2 separate regions of the Homo sapiens genome follow, and region 2 is linked to region 1. The links are contacts of gene promoters, found by promoter capture Hi-C in human tissues and cell types (Jung and others, 2019). All regions are on one chromosome and are shown on one strand. The core of a region is centred on a gene start or on the middle of the fragment in contact, and the rest is flanking DNA. Distances in the headings are between cores, read along the strand shown.

The links. Contacts are between HindIII fragments. The study calls those that stand out against the background at their distance.
Region 2: a contact is called between a fragment that was not itself captured here and the fragment with the promoter of CEP19 in region 1, in 3 of the 25 tissues and cell types used here (IMR-90 fibroblasts, bladder and small bowel).

The regions. Positions count from the first base shown.
Region 1 is chr3:196,710,939-196,714,532 of GRCh38, reverse strand. It overlaps CEP19 (centrosomal protein 19), which reads left to right and starts at 2,283. Exons shown (of 3, transcript NM_032898.5): 1 at 2,283-2,604. PIGX (phosphatidylinositol glycan anchor biosynthesis class X) reads right to left here and starts at 2,156. Exons shown (of 6, transcript NM_017861.4): 1 at 1,889-2,156. The coding sequence starts at 2,000. RefSeq lists silencers at 1,757-2,386, 2,221-2,533. The HindIII fragment of the contact is 13,108 bases long and covers 1-3,594 here.
Region 2 is chr3:196,304,940-196,308,613 of GRCh38, reverse strand. It overlaps DYNLT2B (dynein light chain Tctex-type 2B), which reads left to right. Exons shown (of 5, transcript NM_152773.5): 3 at 1,602-1,671. Among named protein-coding and RNA genes, the nearest start is that of DYNLT2B, 11 kb to the left of the region's middle. The HindIII fragment of the contact is 6,550 bases long and covers 1-3,674 here.

The DNA of each region.
Region 1 (3,594 bases), core at 1,034-3,533:
CCGAGATTGCGCCACTGCACTAGCCTGGCAAGAGAGCAAGACTCCGTCTCAAAAAAAAAAAAAAAAAAAGAGACAGGGCCTTACTCTGTCACACAAGCTGGAATGCAGTGGCATGATCACAGCTCACTGCAGCCTTGAACTTCTGAGCTCAAGCAATCCTCCCACATCGGCCTCCCAAGTAGCTAGGATTATAGGCCCACGCCACCACACCTGGCTACTTTTAAATTTTTTTGCAGAGACAGGGTCTTGCTATGTTTTCCAGGCTGGTCTTGAACTCTTGGCCTCAAGCAATCCTTCCACCTCAGCCTCCCAATGTGTTAGAATTTCAGGTGTGAGCCACTGTGCCCAGCACAAATCCAGATCTTTCTTCATCCTGTTTAATTTTAATGGGGGTAGGGTGGGAAGTGAGGACTGCTATCCAACTATAAATTAAATTAGAAGAAAAATTATGAACAGGCTTAAATTCTACTGGTATGTACACCAGACAGCAGTTGATCATTGGGACCGGAGAAAGGCTAATTTACAAATAGTACAGCAAATACTAGAATGTCATGATTTTAAAGGCAAAAGTACCATTTTTAAAACGAATTTGTTGAATGTGAATTTACCTTCAACATTTTTCCTCTTAACTATTACTTTGGTAGTGGTGAACTGGCTCTGGAAATTGACTTCTTTTTCCTTTTTTTTTTTTTTTTTGAGACAGAGTCTCCCTCTGTCACCCAGGCTGGAGTGCAATGGCGCGATCTCGGCTCACTGCAACCTCCGCCTCCCTAGTTCAAGCGATTCTCCTGCCTTAGCCCCCTGAGTAGCTGGGACTACAGGGGCACGCCATCACGCCCCGCTAATTTTGACCCCTTTTCAATTATAAAATGCTAACGTTGGAAGCCTCTACAGATTACCAAATCCAACTGTTTAAAAATTCTTCTGGCCGAGCATGGTAGTTCACACCTGTAATCCTGGCACTTTGGGAGGCTGAGGAGGGTGGACCACCTGAGGTCAGGAGTTCAAGACCAGCTTGACCAATACGGCGAAACCCCGTCTCTACTAAAAATACAAAAAATTAGCTGGGCATGGTGGCGGGCACCTGTAATAATCCCAGCTACTTGGGAGGCTGAAGCAGAAGAATTGCTTGAACTTGGGAAAGGCGGAGGTTGCAGTGAGCCGAGATCGCGCCATTGCACTCCAGCCTGGCAACAGAGTGAGACTCCATCTCAAAAAAAAAATCTTCTTGGCCTCATAATCCTTTGTTTAGATAAACTTGAAAACCCAATATGTAAACACACAAGCAGAACTGCACTGATTGACAGATACTAAACGGATCTAAATGATACCAAGGATGACAGAAACATCCTCATTTTACAGATGGAGAAACTTGTAGGGTTTGTGCTTTCCTCCCATCAAACCTTACCCTTTATTGTAATTATTCCCGCACTTGCCCGTCTCAGTAGTACAAGCAGTTTGCCAACTACTACTTGCACGAACAACTAGCAGTTTGCCACGGAGTCCTACATTCAGTTTGGGGATTCTCAGGCCTCACAGGGCGCTAAGGCCTTGCCTGGCCCCTTGGTGATCAGAAGCTTCGTGCAGCTCAAGAGCATCCCAAGACGCTTGACGGCTGACTTTCCTTCTCAGAACTTTAGTAACAGGGCGGCCAGTCCAGCCTGGGAACCGCAGGGCCCGAGCCCGACTCTCCCGGAGACCCGGGATCCGCCGCAGAGCAAAGCGCACGGGAGGGAAGGAGGGCACACGGCTCTAGTGTCTGACCTCCTCCGGCTCGCCCTACTGATCTAGGTCCCGCGCCGGGTCCCCACATCCCCGCAACCCGCCGAGAGGCCCGGGAGCCGGGACCGCTCCCACGCTCTGGCCCCCCAAGCCCCGCCCCCCTTACCGGCGTCAGAGCGCGCGGCGGTGAAGGCCGCGGCGGGCCCGCGCGTGAGCCCGGTCGCCGCCCCGAGGAGCAGCCAGGCGGCCGCCCGAACCGCCGCCACCCGAGCCGCCAGGACGCCGGAAGCCGGACGCCCGAGAGGGGCGCGCGGGGCCAGGTGCGGACGCAGGAAGGGGCCTGGCCGCCCGCAGCTCCTACCGCGCGCTGCCCCAGATTTATCGGCTGGGACCGAGTGCTGGGTGCGCGCGCCTAGCGCCCGCGGTTCCCAGCTGCCTGCAGCCCCGGCCCCCAAGGGTTCCCGCGCGGCGTGGGGCGGTCGTCCCCGCCCAGCTGTTCCTTGCTCCGCCCACCCGGGGGCGGGCGAGGAGCTGCGCACGCGCGGGGACGCGCGCCCGGCCTGTCGCTGTGGAAACCGCTAGGCCAGCGCTCGCCGGGACCTGGAATCCCTGTACGCCGAGGTGGGAGCCGGTGGACCGGTCCCCCAGCCGGCCCCCACCTCCGCTTCCCGGTGTTTGAGGGTTCGGGCCTCCCGCCGGGGAGTTCACCCCTCGGGCTCGTCAGTAGGGCTGTGGCTGTCGCCTCTTCCTGCAGCGCCAGGCTCCGCCCGGTCTCACAGTCGGCTTAGGGGCTTTGCGTGCACTGCGGTTGGGTGGAAAAACCCACTCCTGGTTGTTTAGACGTTGGCCTGCAGACGATGTCATTTCTGTATTCCTCTAAGGGTAAGAAAGCCAGCCTTGCACTAGTGGAGACGTGAGTAGGGAGAGAATCGTCTACTCTTTGGGGACATTCGTACCCTTAGGTGCTGTGGGGCTTCCTAACAAGATTGTGGGCAGTTACTGATCTCTGGGGAGAGGAGTATTCGTGTCCAGGAAGAATAATTGGATAAACGTGCCGTCCTTCTTCCTAAACAGAGTGGAATCTGTAAGCAGGCCAAGAGAGCATCCAGGCGGCTTGGAGTGGAATAGAGGGCTCTAGAGCGGGTGTCTCAAAGAGGAAACAGAGTGTATGTCAAAACATACTATCCAAAACTGAAAATAGCCGGGCAGGTGGCTCACGCCTATAGCCCCAGCACTTTGGGCGAATCACCTGAGGTCAGGAGTTCGAGACCAGCCTGGCCAAGATGGCGAAACCCCGTCTCTACTGAAAATACAAAGATTAGCTGGGCATGGTGGTAGGCACCTGTAATTCCAGCTACTCGGGAGGCTGAGGCACGAGAATCGCTTGAACCCAGGAGGCGGAGGTTGCAGCGAGGGGAGATCACGCCACTGCACTGCAGCCTAGGCGACAGAGGGAGACTCTGTTTCAAAAGAAAAAAAAAAACTGAAAATGGTAGTATAAGCATGTTTCTTAAGAAATGGAGAGAGAAATTTTGGAAGATATGCCTTTTAAAATTCAGTCTGGCTCCCTATGAAGAGGAGTAGGGCCAAGGACGATAGTTTGTTGTTATAAGCCTCATAGAATTATTTTATATTCCAAATACAAACATTACTTTAGCAAAAATTAAAGTTAAATTTTAAAAAGAGTCTAGTAAAAAAAAAACTACATTATTTGAGTACCAACTGCATACATCTTTGACGAGTACAGCCATTGCTTCAGTGTGTGGAGTTTATATGTGCCCCGTAGGTTGTAGTTTACTAACATCAAATTTTAGTTAGGTGAATTGGGAATAGTATTCGTTAAAAAAAAAAAAAAAGCAAGAAAAGAGAAGG
Region 2 (3,674 bases), core at 1,046-3,545, 410 kb after region 1:
ATTTCACTTCTTTTGTTTTTTTAAAACTCTTTCCACTATTCCTTGGTCAAAAAAGTAGAAAGATTCAAAAATGCCCATTCCATTTTTTTCTCTTCAGACTTGGTGTTAGTGAGAATTTTCAGGATTTTGCTGCTTTAGCAACGTAGTTTCTGGAGTAAACAGCTAAATGGTGCTGGATCACCTCGTTTTGCTCTGGAATCTTCATTTTTTTTCTTGTCTGTCTTACTGAACAGCTTACAGTTTCTTGGAGATCCCATGCTCTCCTGCTGTGCACATGCCCCTCGTTCTCGGACGTGTGGGGAGATGGGGCTGACCTGGTCCCCTCTTACTCAGCCCTCAAGACTCAGTTTATTGGCCGGCCACATCTTCCAAGAAGTCTTTTCCAGTGATTTCTTGCCACTGCCCAGACAAACAGAGGAACTGCCCCCACTGGCTCTGTGTTCCTGATGTACATCATACATGCCACTCCTTGAATTATAAGCATACTCAATTTATAATTTATTTTTCTATTTTCTTTTTTTTTTTTTTTTTCGAGATGGAGTTTTGCTCTTGTTACCCAGGCTAGTGTGCAATGGTGCGATCTCAGCTCACTGCAACCTCCGCCTCCCAGGTTCAAGCAATTCTCCTGCCTCAGCCTCCCGAGTAGCTGGGGTTACAGGGATCTGCCACCATGCCTGGCTAATTTTTATATTTTTTAGTAGAGACGGGGCTTAACCATGTTGGCCAGGCTTGTCTCAAACTCCTGACCTCAGGTGATCCACTGGCCTCACCTTCTGAGAGTGCTGGGATTACAGGCGTGAGCCACCGTGCCCGGCCTATTTTTCTATTTTCCTTTGAGTTCTTTATTACTGTGAGTTCTTTAAGGCAAGAAAAACGTCTTATTTATTTCTCTATCTTGAAGGTTCAGCTCACTAGCTGACTTATAGTAGGGGAAAAAGGAAGGAAGCTAAGGTTTATTGAAGGACTAGTATTTAACAGCACTGTTTAGATGCTTTAGATATTACTATATCTGACCGGGCGCGGTGGCTCACGCCTGTAATCCCAGCACTTTGGGAGGCCAAGGTGAGTGGATCACCTGAGGTCAGGAGTTCGAGACCAGCCTGGGCAACATGGTGAAACACCTTTTCTACTAAAAATACAAAAATTAGCCAGGTGTGGTGATGCATACCTGTAGTCCCAGCTACTGAGGAGGCTGAGGTAGGAGAATCACTTGAACCCTGGAGGCAGAGGTTGCCGGTGAGCTGAGATCGTGCCACTGTACTCCAGCCTGGGCAACAGAGTGAGAATCCATCTCAAAAACAAAACAAAAAAAAGATACTACTATATCTTACCTAACCTTATAACAATCTTGGGAGGTAGGTACTGATATTCCTGTTTAATAAGGGAGACTTAAACTGAAAAGTTAAATTACTTTCTGAGGTTATACACTTGCTGAGTTATAGTTAGGATCTGCCTTCACGTCCTCCTGACCCCCAAGCTTACCACCATATTCATTAAGTACTTGTGGATTGAATGTTTATGTCCATTTCTGGGCAAATTTGTCTTCAATAAGTAATTTTACTACATATTTGCTTATAAATAACCTTATTTTTTCTTTCTAGAAATGGGATTTGACCGATACAAAATGGTGGTGCAAGTAGTGATTGGAGAACAAAGAGGTGAAGGAGTATTGTGAGTAGCTGGATTTTCCTTCTTGTTTTAGTCATCTATATTTCTTATGAGGTATCTGTCCTTTGGACAATTCAGTAAGAGTGCCTTTACAAGAGTGAGAAGGGCCGGGTGTGATGGGTCACACCTGTAATCTCAGCACTTTGGGAGGCTGAGGCGGGTGGATCACCTGAGGTCAGGAGTTCAAGACCAGCCTGGCCAACATGGCGAAACCCCGTCTCTACTAAAAATTAGCCGGGTGTGATGGCGTGCGCTTGTAGTCCCAGCTACTCAGGAGGCTGAGGCAGGAGAATCACTTCAACGCAGGAGGTGGAGGTTGCAGTGAGCCAAGATCGTGTCATTGCACTCCAGCCTGGGTGACAGAGTAAGACTCTGTCTCAAAAATAAATAAATAAAATATCTTTATTATCTCTAAAATATTGTCAGTCCTTAATATCATAAAATATGCTGTTATTATTCAGATATGCCTCATATATGTATGTATGTGTTTTCTTTCTTTTCTTTTTTTTTTGTTTAAAGAGACAGGGTCTCATTTTGTCACCCAGGTTGGTGTGCAATGGCACTATCACAACTCACTGCAGCCTTGGCCTCCTGGGCTCAAGTGATCCTCCTGCCTCAGCCTCCTGAGTAGCTGGGACTGCAGGTGTGCACCACCACACCTGGCTAATTTTCTTTCTTTCTTTTTTTTTTTTTTTTTTGCAGAGATGGGTCACACTCTGTTGGCCAGTCTGGTCTTAAACTCCTGGGCTCAGGCAATTCACCAGCCTTGGCCTCCTAAAGTGGTGGACTTATAGGCTTGAACCACCATGCCAGACCTATTATTTTCTTTTTACAATTTTTTCAAATTAAGATTCAAACAAGGTCCACACATTGCATTTGGTTAATATGTAAATTAGGATTTTTTTTTAAGACGTAAGATCTTGCTATCTTGCCCAGGCTGGAGTGCAGTGGCTATTCACAGATGTGATCATAACACACTACAGACTAGAACTCCTGGGCTCAAGTGATCCTCCCACCTCAGCCTGCCAGGTAGCTGGGACTATAGGTGCACACCACAGCATCTGGCTTTAAATTTACTTCAATGTGTTGTTTTTGCTGCCTCATTTCTCTCTTTCTTCTTTTAATCCTGCCATTTGATTTTATTTTTATGACAGTCTTGCTTCCTCACCCAGGCTGGAGTGCAGTGGCATGATCTCGGCTCACTGCAACCTCTGCCTGCCGGGTTCAAGTGATTCTCCTGCCTCAGCCTCCTGAGTAGCTGGGATTACAGGCGCTCACCACCACGCCCAGGTAATTTTTGTATTTTTAGTAGAGATGGGGTTTCACCATGTTGGCCAGGTTGGTCTCCAACTCCTGACCTCAGGTGATCCACCCACCTTGGCCTCCCAAAGTGCTGGGATTGCAGGCGTGAGCCACTGTGCCCTGTCAGTTATTTATTTATTTATTTTTTCCTGCCATTTATTTGTTGAAGAAATTGGTTTGTTTGTCCTGTAGAGTTTCCTATATTCTGGCAGTTGCTGATTATATACCTATGGTATTGTTTAATATGTCTTCTATTTCCTGTACTTCTTGAAAATAAGTAGTTAGATCTAGTCTTAATTAGCCATAGGTTTGAGGTTGGGGAAATACTGTTTTCTATACATCCTATTGCATCTTCTCAGAAGGTACAAAATAGCTGGTCATCTCTTTTTGCTTTGTTAAGGTTGATCATGGAGTTCAGATATTGTCAGATGGATCCATCTATTATAAAGTTTCCCATCAGGGCCGGGCGTGGTGGCTCACACCTGTAATCCCAGCACTTTGGGAAGCTGAGGCAGGAGGATCACTTGAGCCCAGGAGTTCCAGACCAGCCTGGGCAACACAGCAAAACTCTGTCTCTACAAAAAAATACAAAAATTAGCCGGGCATGGTGGCACACGCCTGTGGTCCCAGCTACTTGAGAGACTGAGGTGGGAGGACCTCTTGAGCCCAGGAAGGTTGAGACTGCAGTAAGCCGTGATTGTGCC